3 separate regions of the Homo sapiens genome follow, and regions 1 and 2 are each linked to region 3. Evidence: promoter capture Hi-C in 16 types of primary human blood cells and fetal thymus (Javierre and others, 2016). All regions are on one chromosome and are shown on one strand. The core of a region is centred on a gene start or on the middle of the fragment in contact, and the rest is flanking DNA. Distances in the headings are between cores, read along the strand shown.

Evidence for each region. Contacts are between HindIII fragments. The CHiCAGO score rates a contact against its expected background, and 5 or more counts as called.
Region 1: a contact is called between a fragment that was not itself captured here and the fragment with the promoter of PLEKHG6 in region 3, in 1 of 17 cell types (activated CD4 T cells). The highest score is 5.5, in activated CD4 T cells.
Region 2: a fragment that was not itself captured here is called in contact with the fragment with the promoter of PLEKHG6 in region 3 in 1 of 17 cell types (activated CD4 T cells); the score reaches 6.1 in activated CD4 T cells.

The regions. Positions count from the first base shown.
Region 1 is chr12:7,144,473-7,148,868 of GRCh38, reverse strand. The region is part of intron 12 of CLSTN3 (calsyntenin 3); the gene reads right to left. Among named protein-coding and RNA genes, the nearest start is that of CLSTN3, 16 kb to the right of the region's middle. The HindIII fragment of the contact is 1,881 bases long and covers 478-2,358 here.
Region 2 is chr12:7,101,172-7,105,779 of GRCh38, reverse strand. It overlaps C1RL (complement C1r subcomponent like), which reads left to right. Exons shown (of 6, transcript NM_016546.4): 3 at 3,693-3,882. Among named protein-coding and RNA genes, the nearest start is that of C1RL-AS1, 4.8 kb to the left of the region's middle. The HindIII fragment of the contact is 1,748 bases long and covers 2,218-3,965 here.
Region 3 is chr12:6,307,492-6,311,931 of GRCh38, reverse strand. PLEKHG6 (pleckstrin homology and RhoGEF domain containing G6) reads right to left here and starts at 1,250. Exons shown (of 16, transcript NM_001384598.1): 1 at 1,084-1,250. RefSeq lists a silencer at 1,304-1,353 and an enhancer at 1,716-2,436. The HindIII fragment of the contact is 5,964 bases long and covers 158-4,440 here.

The DNA.
Region 1 (4,396 bases), core at 169-2,668, 840 kb before region 3:
TCTCATGTCAGGAAGGGGCAGGGGAAGAAAGGGGGTCATGCCTCTGCATCCCAACCCCCACAGCAGTTGAAGGGGGACATATCCTTTCCTGGTAGGATGTCACCAAGGAAAATGTCGAGGACAGAAGGTCAGGTAATCCCAACCTGTGGGTGTGATCACACCATCAATGCCCTACCCCAGGATTATGGAGTACCTATAGATGCTATTTTAATGAAAAACAAAGCAAACTGAACTGACAAACAGGTATATATACACACACAGTTCTTTATCCAGCAGTTTAAAAGTACATGGACTCAGTATACTATCCGGCACATATGCGCCCAAAATTATTCAACAATAAAAGTAGAATGTGGACATCTATCAAAGGATGTCCTCCTCTTTGGTGTGTCTTTCATTCCCTTCAATATCGGGGAAACACACTTTGGTAGGTGAGATCATCTGACCACCTTGGACCTAGATCCACCGTCTCATGAAGCTTGAGGATCCAGGCATCAGGACAAGCTATCCTTAGAGGACTCTGTTGAGCCAGACCAACCAACAGCACAGCTGCTCAGCAGTGATGCTCCCAGGATCACATTTAGCCCCACCTTTACCAGTAATAACAACACCTCACAATCAATAGCCCTTGCCAGTTTATGAAGCATTTTCCCACATTTCTTTCTTTCTTTCTTTCTTTCTTTCTTTCTTTCTTTCTTTCTTTCTTTCTTTCTTTTTGATGGAGTTTCACTCTTGTTGCCCAGGCTAGGGTGCAATGGTGCGATCTTGGCTCACTGCAACCTCTGCCTCCTGGGTTCAAGCGATTCCTCTGTCTCAGCCTCCCAAGTAGCTGGGATTATAGGGCGCATGCCACCACACCCGGCTAATTTTTGTATTTTTAGTAGAGATGAGATTTCTTCATATTGGCCAGGCTGGTCTTGAACTCCTGACTTCAGGTGATCTGTCCGTCTCGGCCTCCCAAAGTGCTGGGATTACAGGCGTGAGCCACCGCACCTGGCCCATATTATTTCATTATATTATAACCTCATTTCTATGCTGTAAAATGCCTAAAGCTCAGGCTGGGCATGATGGCTCATGCCTGTAAATCCTGGCACTTTGGGAGGCTGAGGCGGGAGGATCCCTTGAGCTTAGGAGTTCGAGATCAGCCTGGGCAACATAGTGAAACCCCGTCTCTACAAAAAATACAAAAATTATCCAGGTGTGGTGGTAGATGCTTGTAGTCCCAGCTACTCAGGAGGCTGAGGTGGAAGGAACACTTGAGCCCAGGAGGCAGAGGTTGCAGTGAGCTGATGAGATCAGGCCACTGCACTCCAGCCTGGGCGACAGAGTGAGACCCTATCTCAAAAAAAAAAAGAAGAAAAGAAAAGAAAGAAAAAGAAAAAGAAACAATCAAGGCTTAAACCAGAGTCTAGGCTTAAATCATTCTTCTCCTTCCAGGTCCACTGATTTTTTTTTTTTTTTTTTTTTTTTTTTTTGGCAGAGTCTCTCTCTGTTGCCCAGGCTGCAGTGCAGTAGTGCCATCTCAGCTCACTGCAACCTCTGCCTCCCAGGTTCAAGCAATCTCGTGCCTCAGCCTCCTGAGGAGCTGGGACCACAGGTGTGCGCCACCACACACCGCCCAAGTCCACTGATCTTTCCACTAAACCACAGGCACCATTTGGGGCCTGGGTTTGCACCAGGGAAATGTATCTGTAAAGAAGTTTCCCCACTTGAACAAGCAGACTTCACGGTGGAGTTAGTGATCCAGGAGCATGGACTCTGATCCCCACGCTGGTGCTAGCGGAAATGATTTTACAGAGAGGACTGTAATTATTAGTGTTACTGAGCATGCCCAGCTTGAATGCTGGAGTAAAAAGGGAGAAGGCATCATCTCAGTAGGCATGATGAGCTCAGAGCCCCTGAAGTTGCCAATGCCCGGGATGTGCTGAGTTCCTGTACCACACGGAGCAGGGCCTATTACAGTCTGCCATCCAGATAGGCCTAGGGCAAAGCCCCTTGGGAAACAATCCCAGATGACCCTGAAGGCACAGGCTCCAACAGACATCCTCCCTGCAATGAGCAATGCTGTGCTGTGCCGCTGGTCTGGGAATCCCAAGGGGAATAGGAGGCCTGACCCAAAGGCACCGTTGGTCTGGTAGAGAGATTAGACGTGGCACACAAAAGTTAAAAGAAAGGCAAATATGGTCATCGCCATATGAGTGGAACAAACAACCAGAAGAGTTCAGAGGAGGGAGAGGTTAGTTCTGCCTAGGATAAGAGGAGGGTGCTTGGAAAAGGAAGGTAGGAACGATCAGAGAAAGTAGCAACTGAGCTAGCCTTTGAAGGAGGGTAGTACTGACCCAGAGTGGATGGCGAGAAGCTTACTAAGGGGAGTAGAGGAACATGAGGCAGGAACCACCAGAAGCCAGATGGCTGGCAGCTTTAAATGCCATGATAAGATCTGTTTTTTTTTTCTCTCTCTCTAATTTTTTAGAGACAGGGTCTCGCTTTGTCGCCCAGGCTGGAATGCAGTGGTGCAATCATGACTCACTGCAGCCTCGAACTCCTGGGCTCAAGTGATTCTCCCACCTCAGCCTCCTGAGTAGCTGGGACTACAGACTTGCGGTCTGTTGGTTGTGCAGGCTGGTCTCGAACTTCTGGCCTTAAGTGATCCTCCCACCTTGGCCTCCCAAAGTGCTGGGATTACAGGTGTGAGCCACGGCACCCAGCACATTTGACATTTTTATGCAGTGGGCAAGAGGAAGCCACCGACGTCTTTTTCATCAGGGAAGTGTGATGATGAAAACTCAACTTAAGATCACTCACCTAGCCTCAGAGTAGAGGATAAATAAAATTCGAAGACTAGAGATAGGTCAGCTAGTTAGGAGGCAATGGGCCAGATAAGAGGTAATAAGACCTGGGCTAGAACAGTAACAGCAGCAAAAGAAAGAGGAGACAGATTTCAGACACGCGGCACAGAGGCAGGGTCCAGGTGAGCTGGCAACTGATGGGCAGTGGAGGATAAAGACAGGGAAGAATCAAAGATGACTCAGAGGTTTCAAGCTCTGGATGACTGCAAGGACAGAGGCACCATTACAGAGAGAGTTCAGGGAGAGAGGCTGGTTTGGGATTGCAGTTGATTATTTCAGCATTAGCTCTTTCGGTTGAGGTGCTAGCAGAACTTCTAGATAGAGGTTACAGGAAGCAGATGGAAAGTCAAGAGCTGTGGAAAGAGGACAAAACTAGAGAAATAGATGTGGTATCTATCTGTTCAGGGGTCAATTCCACAAGTAAATGGGCTTTCCAAGAAAAATACTAAAAAAAAAAAAAACTTCAGGAAAACTTGCATTTAGGCATTGACCAAATAGTTGCATAAATCTGGCTTTAAATAGACAGAGGTCCAAGAACTGAAAACTGGAAGCTATGAAAGCCACAGGGACAGGGGCAAGGAAATGCATCAGGGAAAGGGAGGTATTGCTAGGTACCTGTCTGTGTCTGTTACATACACACAAATGCGCGCGCACACACACACACACACACACACACCCCTCTATATTTTCTCCCGTGACCTCAGGGAAGTATTAGGATAGCACCAACCATGTAGTAACCTTAGAAATGGAGAAATGAAAACTCTGTTTCTTAACCTCATAGAGAAAACATCAAGGCCCCTTTCCTCAAAGGCAGGTTCCAAGCCCTTGGATAAACCTCTATCCTGGGCATGAAAAAGATAGCAGGAATTCAGATGAGGCAGTCAGCAAAGAGAATGTCAACTCCTCCCCCCGCAGGAACTCCCCTTGCAGAGCTCCACCCTAGGCCAAAAACCAGAGCCCTCCCTTCTGCCATGGCTCCTCAGCACTGGAGGGGACGAGGCAATGCCTTGGCTTCTGAGGGATCAAGCCTTTCATAACTGGATGACAGCCCTTTAACAACTGGAGCTCTGACTGGGACATGGCGGGGTGCATACTCAGCAATCAGCTGCACCCACATTAACTCAACTGCCTGTGACCTTCAGCTCCACACCCTGAACCAGCAAATTCCCAAAAGCCACAGCCCGGGGCCTTCCACAGCTCTAACTGTGAGGCCTGATAATCACGCCCAGTCACCCTCTAGGGCTCAGAGCCCTCTCCCCTCTAAACCCACCCCTCCCAGGATAGGGGCAAATTTGAGATGTTTATCTTCATATAGCTCACAGAGAAACTGAGGCAGAATCGGGGAGAGGGGTAACAAGATTGGAACGCAGAAATCCTAACTCTTAAATCATGTAATTCACCCACTAGATGGCAGTATCTCCTAAAAACCGCCCATAAACCATAATAAGGGGTGAAAATGCCTTTATGTAATAATAGCCAGCATTTAAGCGGCATCCACTCTCTGCTAGGCATTTGATCCAGATTATATCATGTAGTCATCGTAACAATTC
Region 2 (4,608 bases), core at 1,842-4,341, 790 kb before region 3:
CCTTTTTATAGAGTATTGTTCTTGTTTCATTGATGCAGTATCAACTCCTTTCCCTCCTTTGGGATTATTTTTAGATGTTTCTTCTGTTCTCTATAGTGGGTCTATTTCATCCAAGTTCTTTTTTACCGTTTGTCTGTTTTGGTCTCTGCTTTTTGTGTTAGAGACTTTCCTACGATATCTGATAATACTTGGCTGTCCATTCATATTTAAGGCCGGGCGCAGTGGCTCACATCTGTAATCCCAGCACTTTGGGAGGCCGAGGCAGGCAGATCACCTGAGGCCAGGAGTTTGAGACCAGCCTGGCCAACATGGTGAAACCCCGTCTCTACTAAAAATACAAAAATTAGGCAGGCATGGTGGTGTACGCCTGTAATCCCAGCTACTTGGGAGGCTGAGGCATAAGAATCGCTTGAACCTGGGAGGTGGAGGTTGTAGTAAGCCGAGATCAGGCCACTGCACTACAGCCTGTGGGGTGCAGAGTGAGTCTCTGTCTCAAGGAAAAAAAAAAAAGAGTGGAGCACTAAAATACTGATTGGAAGTTCTGTGTGGATAGCTAAAATTTGTCAAATGATAGGTTTGAAAATAGGGTTATCGACAAGGTGACCTAGATGTGCCACTGGGGGCCTCCCAACTGTCAGGATGTAAAAGCATTTTATTTGGGGGCAGCCAGTTTCCCCTGAGAGGACTCCTGCAGATTCCAGCTCAGGGACCCCAGCATTCTGGTCAACAAGCTGAGAAAAGGGCCTGGTGGAGGGAGATGCAGCTCACTGTTTGGCAGGTAGACTTTCACTTAATCCTTCTGTTTTTGGTACAGTGAGTCCTCACTTAAAATCATCCATAGGTTCTTGGAAAGTATGACTTTAAGAGAAATAACATAGAATGAAACCAATTTGGCCATAGAGCTAATTGATATAGACAAGAGTGAAGTTTCTACAGCAATTACTGATCACAGAAACATCACCAAACCTCTAAATAAAGACCCCAAACACTTCTAATATTAAATATTGAAATACATGTGAACTATGCCTACATGTAAGAAAGGTTAATAAAAACGAATAAGATTATTTACCCAATTATTCCAGTTTGGGGTCACGGGTGGCCACAGCCTGTTGCAGCAGTTCAGGATGCAAGGCATGAACCAGTGCTGGACAGGACACCATCCTGTTTCAGGACGCACTCACACACTCATACTCACTCACACTGGGACCGTGGAGACATACCAGGTCGCCTAGCAGGCACAGCTTGGGATGTGGGAGGAAACCAGAGGACCTGGAGAAAACCACTGAAGACATGGGAAGAATGTGCAGACTTCACCCAGAGAGTGGCCCCGGACACGGGGCAATATTTTTTCTCGTCAACGTCATAATGAAACGACGATGTTATTCATGGACCTGCTGCACTGGCCTTCGCCCCCTCTATCAAGTGTGCCGCGGGGCCTCAAGTCCAGGGTTTCTTGTTAAGCTCATGCCTTCTGCCAGGGTGGGCCAGAGGGAGTTGCCTGGGTGCACAGAGATTCTAGGATTCTGCAGTCTCCCTCACAGGCTTCTGGTCTGCCATCCCCGTGCCAGCCCTTCCCTCATCCCTATCTTGATTCCCCCAATTTTTAAAACTTCCCCTGGTTCTGTGATGAGAACCTGCTTGCTTTATGTTGGCTCCCATCATTGCAAACTCAAGTTATCACTTGCATCTCCACTCCATCTTCCAAAGTGTGTTGACACCTGTCATCTGCTGTCATCTTCTCTCCCTTTTTTGTCCTTGGTTATGTGTACCATTTTATCCCTTTGCTGTCATACGACTGGGGTTGAGATGGGAGAGGAAATATATGCATGCATTTATTGCTTCAGACTTAACCAGTCAGGATGATACTTTGTTCAATTCAGCCTATGTCTGTTGAGCACCTACCATGAGTCCCGTTCCTCTTAAATCATGGAGATTTTTAATCCTGGCCTTTTTTCTTGTCATTGAGAAACTTCAAGTTCAGAAAAAGGATTCCTCCCAGAGTAAGTCACACACACACACCCCTCAAAGGCAGAATTCAGCACACTATAACCTAGTTTATTTTTTTACTTGTCAGCGTCCTCAGCCACTGCTCCTCGGGAGCAGAACTGTGCCTTTGTCACATCTGTGTCCCCAGCACCTAGCACAGTATCTTACACATAGTACACAACCAGTAAATGTGTTAAAGGAATAAGTGAGAGAGTGAATAAAATGCAAGCTTATGTGTGTGCAGGACACACAACATAATGAATTTTGAAGGAGCAGGTATTGAGTATCCATCCTCACCACTGCTCTTAGTGCAGACTCTGGAAGATGCCATAGAACATGCTGGAAGAGGCCACACAGACCATTATATAGGAGAGGAAACTGAGATCTTGGGTGCTTCAGAAACTCCCCATTTCACACATGGAATTAGTAGCAAAGTCTAGAATTTAAGGGTCTTAGGACTCAGTCCTGTGTCCACTCTACTTTCCTAGTTAGAATCCTAAGCAATTGTATTTCGCTAACAATTCAGGGAAAAGGGCAAAAAGAAAGCTGGAGGGTTTTACAACCAAGTAGAGCAGTTGAGCACCATTTCCTACATCAAATTGCTTCTTCCCCAAAAAGCAGGCCTCTTAAATGCCAGGAGTTACATTTGCTGATATTCTAAGCAAAAGACCAGTATTGGGATTTGTCTGAACCAGGTATTTGGGGCGATTGAGAAATTTTCTTCATCGCAAATTTTACCCAGTTACTCTGATCATAATGACATGGTCTGGATGAAGTCTTGAATGAATTTGGGACTTGTGGAGAATGAGGGAATGGAGAGCTAGCAAAAACCTAGGATATATGGATCAGTATGAAAACCAGAAATAAAATGAGCTAAGCAGTGAGCTGTGTGCCTGGAACAGAGATGAAGCAGGAAGCATGGCCCCTTCCTTGAGTTAAGGAACCCACAGGAAGGTATTTGAGCAGAGGCGAGACAGTCAAAAGGGCATTGAAACAGAGACAAGCTGCCCGATGAAGCAACACCATCCAGTGCAGCTGGACTGTGGACACCTGTGTCCTTAGGTTTTCATACATTGTGAGAGCTTCGTTTACAAAGTGCATGGGATAAGAGGAGGGGCACCCCAAAAGAAGGAAAGCAGGAAAAGGCAGGGACCCCAGAGGCTCAGTCTCTGCAGAGGGTATTACTGCCTCACAGATGTTGGCCAAAGAAAGTTACTCACAGAAGTGGAAGGTGATGGGATGGGCTTTGGGGATGGAGGAGAAGCTGGATGGGAGGGGCTTATGCCCATGTTCATTGAGTCAACGCTGTGGTGCTGTAGGTACCACGCTGAGCACCAGGAACTCAGTGGAGAAAAAGACAGAAGTAGTCCTTGCCTTCTTAGAATGCATAATCCAGTGACTCCCATGGGAACCCTGGTGTTCCCAAGGAACTTCTTAAAAGAAGGAAAATATAGTGGGTTACGTGAAATAATTATGGTAGGCTAAAGAAACATTGTAGTATGTGGTTATGTCTGGAAGAAACTCAGGCGTCAATAATGGAACCAGAAGCTAGTTGAGGAAGCCTCTGTGAGGTGCCTTCTGAGCCCCAGAGGGGCACGGCCCGTCTAGATGGGGCAGGAGTCACACCGAGGATGTGCCCCTGTGATGCCAGCAGCGCGGATTCACCCCACACCTATCTGCAGCCTCACTCCTCCTCCCGCTTTCAGATCTCATTCGTCGGTTCGGATCCAAGCCAGTTCTGTGGTCAGCAAGGCTCCCCTCTGGGCAGGCCCCCTGGTCAGAGGGAGTTTGTATCCTCAGGGAGGAGTTTGCGGCTGACCTTCCGCACACAGCCTTCCTCGGAGAACAAGACTGCCCACCTCCACAAGGGCTTCCTGGCCCTCTACCAAACCGTGGGTGAGTGTCCCTCCTGGGGGTGCAGGGAGGGAGCCTCTGTTCCCAGCCATGACCCTGGTATCTTCAAGCCTTAAGTGGAAGCTTGAGTGACAGCTGAGGCTGGGGACTCAGGGACACCTGGGCTGGATCCCAGCCCTGCCCCTGCTGGCAAGCAACCCTATTAAGAGACAGCCGTAGCTGAGCCCCCAGCGGTTGTTTCCATGCAGATTTACAGGCCCAGTGTTTGCAGATCATCTCATTTTTAAAGAGATGCCAAAAATCCAGATTTTTAAGTAAAATTATAAATTTTCAAATGATGACTCAGATTTGTTTTTGAAAGATAAATACTGGCTGGAGGCAGTGGTTCATGCCTGTAATCCCAGCACTTTGGAAGGCCAAGGCTGGAAGATTGCTTGAGGCCAGTAGTTGGAGACCAGCCTGGGCAACATAGTGAGACCCCGTTTCCACAAAAAAAATTAAAAATTAGCCAGGCATGGTGGTGCACACCTGTAGTACCAGCTACTCAGGGACTGAGGGGGAGGATTGCTTGAGCCAGGGAGTTTGAGGCTGCAGTCAGCCACAATCATGCCACCGCACTCCAGCCTGGGAGACACGGAGAAACTAGAAGAGAGAAAGAGAGGAAGAGAGGAAGGAAGGAAGGAGGAAAAGGGAGAGGGAAGGGAAGGGAGGGAAGAAAGCGAGAAAGGAGAAAGAGGGAAAGAAAGAAGGGAGGGAGGGAGAGAGGGA
Region 3 (4,440 bases), core at 1-2,500:
CTCTCTCACATGTGTGCATATTTGGGGTACAAGCTCCTGCACTGGTCTCAAATGGGAACAAGGGTCACAGACAGGTCTCGGGCTTTCTGGATACACCCAGGTGGGAGGGTTCTCCTTGCACCTAGATATAACCCCATCCCCTTCCCCATATAAAGCTTGGGAAAAAGCTGGAGGGAGGCCATGGTGGGTGGGGTGGGCTGGGAGTGGGGGTGGCTGGAGACAGCCCAGTCTGCCACCAGTTTTTGTACAGCCTGTAAGCCTTTACATATTTACATAGTTGAAACAACTGCTGCCCCCCCTGCAAAAAAGCCACCAATATTTTGGGACAAGTAAATATTACATGATATTCAAATTCAGTGTCCATAAACACAGTTTTGTTGGAATCCATCCTCTTCTGCTGGTCTCCTAATAACCTGTGACTGCTTCTTGCTAGTTGGGACAGACGGTGTAGGCCGCGAAGTCTCTAATCTTTACTGTCTGGCCTTTACTGAAAGGCTTGCCCATCTCCTACCTGAACCCTCCTGACCACAGACAGGGAGGTGAGTGGGGCCAGCTGTCCGGCCACTGCCCTTAGAGACCAGCCAAATAGAATTAGAGTTTCTCCAGTTTCGGGCTATATATTTGGTCCTCCCCAGACTCTGGGAATACCACCATGGAGCTGGGGGCCAGGCGTGGGGCTCCATCCCTCCCCCCTAAACCTGGAGGGAGGGCCCGCCCTCGAGTGGGCAGGGCCTGGAAGAGGAGAGGCCTCCTAAGGGGCGGTGGGCTCAAGAAGGCTGCGCAGGTGTTTGTGCCCCGACCGGGTGGGCCTGAGGTCCTGCCTCAGCCCTCCCTTACCTTCCTCCGATTCAGGAGCAGAGGAGGAAACGTTCGCTGTCCCTCCTGCCGCCTCCCAATAGTCCTCCCTCTGAGGGCGCTGTCTCCCTCGCACTGCTCCCTACCCAGGGTCCTGTCTCAGCCCAGCCCCCGGCTCCCCTCCTCCCGCCTTCGGGAGGCCAGGCCTTCCTTCCCCTTCGCCCCGGCTTCCAGGCCCCGGGTCCCGGCCGCCCCGCCCCCGGGCCGCGTAGCCCTCCCGCCGCTCACCTGTGCCCACAGGTGTCACCGCACCCGCTGCCCTGCGCCGCCCTCCCCGCCCGCGGGGCTCCCCGTCGCCGTCGGCTCCCCGGCGATGCCAGCCAGCCCCGATGCCCAGCCTGGGACTGGGATCGAGCGGCCCGCGGGAGCCGGGCAGCGCGGGTCCGGGCGAGGAGGGCGGGGACCGGGCTGGCCCCTCCCTACCGCCAGCACCGCTCGGGGCAGAGGGGCAGAGGGGCGGGGCCCTGGGGACCGAGCAGCCCCCGCCCTCACGCAGCCACCGCCTTCCCCGGAGAGGACAGCTCACGTGGCGGTGCCCTCCTTTCCCCTTTTCGGTCGCACCTGAACTCGACACCCGCCGGCCGAGCGGGAGGGCTGGGACCGCGCGCCCTCCACTCCGGGCCAGACCCCCGCGAGGCGCTGCAGTAATGAGGGCTGAGTAAGGGGCGGGGCGCCGCCGGGGGAGGCGGCGAGGGTGACAACCTGTGGCAGGCACCCCTCTCTCCTGCTGGTCGCGGCGAGTGGCCGGCCGTCCGGTCCTCCCCCTGCCTCGGCCTAGACCCCTAAGCAGGCAGGGAGCCCGCCTGCCAGCTGGAGGGGCAGGGGGCCCCGTCGCTGTGTGGAGTCCAAAGTGTGAGCCTTATCTCTCAGAGGACCGGCTGGCCTGCCTGGTGGAAGGTGATACTGGAAGGCTATCCTGGACTTTGCCTTTGCTCCAGGGATAGGCAGCTGAGGCCTGACCCGCACTTCTCCTATGACCTAAGACTCAGGTGGGGGCACCCTCCCAGTTCACCTGCAAATAAGCCCACTCCCGGCTACACCAGGGTCACCCAGCCCTTGCGGTGGCTGCTAAAATAGATGCTGTGGGGCCAGGCGCGATGGCTCACGCCTGTAATCCCAACACTTTGGGAGGCCGAGGCGGGCGGATCACAAGGTCGGGAGATGGAGACCAGCCTGGCCAATATGGTGAAACCCCGACTCTACTAAAAATACAAAAATTAGCTGGGCATGGTGACGGGCGCCTGTAGTCCCAGCTACTTGGGAGGCTGAGGCGGGAGAATCGCTTGAACCTGGGAGGTGGAGGTTGCAGTGAGCCAAGACAGCACTACTGCACTCCAGCCTGGGCAACAGAGTGAAACTCCATCTCAAAAAAAAAAAAAAAAAAAAAGAAAGAAAAAGAAAAAGATGCTGTGGAAGGACTGACACATGCTGGGCATTGCATGAAAGGACCATACTTTATTTTCTTTATTTTTAAAATTTATTTTTTAAAAAGAAAATAGAGACAATATCTTGCTGTGTGGCCCAGGATGGACTCCAACTCCTGGGTTCAAGCGATCCTCCTGCTTCGGTTTCCCCACCTTTTCACTTCTCCAAATCATGGCACCTCGTCTGACAGAAGCACTGGATATTTGAGATAGAAGTGTCCTGTGGATGTGTGGTCATTATAATCTCACAACCATGAAACCCAAGACCCTGTAGTTGGCAGGTGGCAGGTCTGAGGCTCCCAGCCCCTCACCCTGACTGTGGTCTATTTCCTGCCAATGAACTCAACAGTGATTGATACGGCTCCTTACTTCTTCAGAGCATCCTGAAGTTCAGGAAACACTTTCAGAAGCAGAATCTCCTTGAGTTGCCAGGGGAAAAGGCCTCTATTCCCTTTTCCCATCTAGGCTATGAAACGCATACATGATCAGAGTGTTCTAGTCCTCACTCGGACTCTGGTGACTCTATTTTGTTTGGAGGAGGAATCTATATCTTTGGGCAGTTTCTAATTTTGTATTCCCTGTGTCCATCCTCAAATCTGCCCTCTGGGATTCTCTTTCTCTGAGCTTGCTGTTGTGTGATTGCTCTGCTGGTTCAGAAGTGTCCTCTGTTCCTCCAGCTCCTTGAACCAGCCTGTCTCCTGCTCCTGGCCCAGCTGGTGGTGGGACTAGTTTTCGGGGGTGAAGTCAGGTGGGAAAGGAACTGCAGTGGCAAGAAACCAGAGTGTGCCTAGTTCCTAGCCCTTCCCTCTTCCCATTCACTGTGTGTGTGTGTGTGTGTGTGTGTGTGTGTGTGTGTGTGTGTGTGTGTGTGTGTGGTGAGAGCTAGACAGAGATAGAGAGATGTCCAGGGATGACAAGAGTAGCCATGAGGGAAAGAGTTAATAAGCCAGGAGAGGAGGTGGTGATTACGGACAGTATTAAATGACACCCCAGAGACAGCTGGTGCCAATGGCCCCTAGCTTCTCCTCCCAGTGTCTCCCAGAAGGAGTGGGAAGGAGGAATAAGAGGGAAGATGAAATTGAGAGAGCACCAAAGACAAGCCTGGGCTTACAGTGCTCTGGGGTGAGCTGGCTAGAGGGGCCCAGTGGCAGGTGGTGGTGGGTGGCGGGGTGGTTAACCCTTTCACTTCCCTCTAGGCGTTGAGGTCCAGTCTCCACCCACTACTGCCCCAGGGCCTGTCTTCAGCCTCCCTGGGAGGAGAGGTTCCCAGGGCAAGCTGGAGTCTAGAAGCCAGAGGTGTGGCCGGGCACAGGTGTGTGGCCTAGGAGGCAGGCCTCCATGTTCTGTTTCTTCTCTTCTGTCACTCTCACAGTCTCCACTTCCATGACTCCTCTGTGCTGCGGAGAGCACACTCCTATGGCAGGCTGAGGGGAGCATTCTCAGGGAGCTGAATGAAATGTAAAGAATTGGGAGGCTGGAGGCTTGGCCTCTGCCAAGTGAGGCTAGGGGCCATCTGGTCCTTGGACCAGAGTATGCCATCTGGATACTTCTCTTTATTCCTGGTTATCCTAGCCTTTCCTCACATGTCTAGCTTGAGTCATATGCCTCACTTTCTCCCAGGTAAGATGCTCCTCATTAGGCCCCTGGATTGACCCCATAACTGATGGTAAAGTGTGTGTCCACGGTCAGAGCTCTGAGGATCAAATGCTTCTGTCCAATAGCAGCCTGAGGATAACTGCCTGGGGTTGGCATAAGGGGCTCACCAGGCAGGAAGGTCAGGGAAACTCATTTGTGCCTCGACCTCTGCTGAGCCCATATCTCTCAGGGCAGAAGTGGGGACCATCTGGGCTAATGAGGGGCTGGCAGGCACTAGCAACAGGAGGCAGCTAATGGGAGCTGTGTCCTCCCTGCCCAGAGCGAGGCAGAAACTGAGGGTTCAAGCTAGGAGGCGCCAGGTCATGTGAGGCAGATGAATACCAGGAGGACAGGCCACAGGGCAAAGCCTCTGGTGCCTCAGGCCAGAACTGGTGCTTCCCGTTTCTTCTTTCGTCCCCTCCCCCTTCCTTCCACATTTACTGGCAATGTGTAAGACAGTAGGAATATAGAAAAGAATAAGAGGCCCTGACTTCTAGGGGCTTACAGACTAGTGGGGAGGCAGATG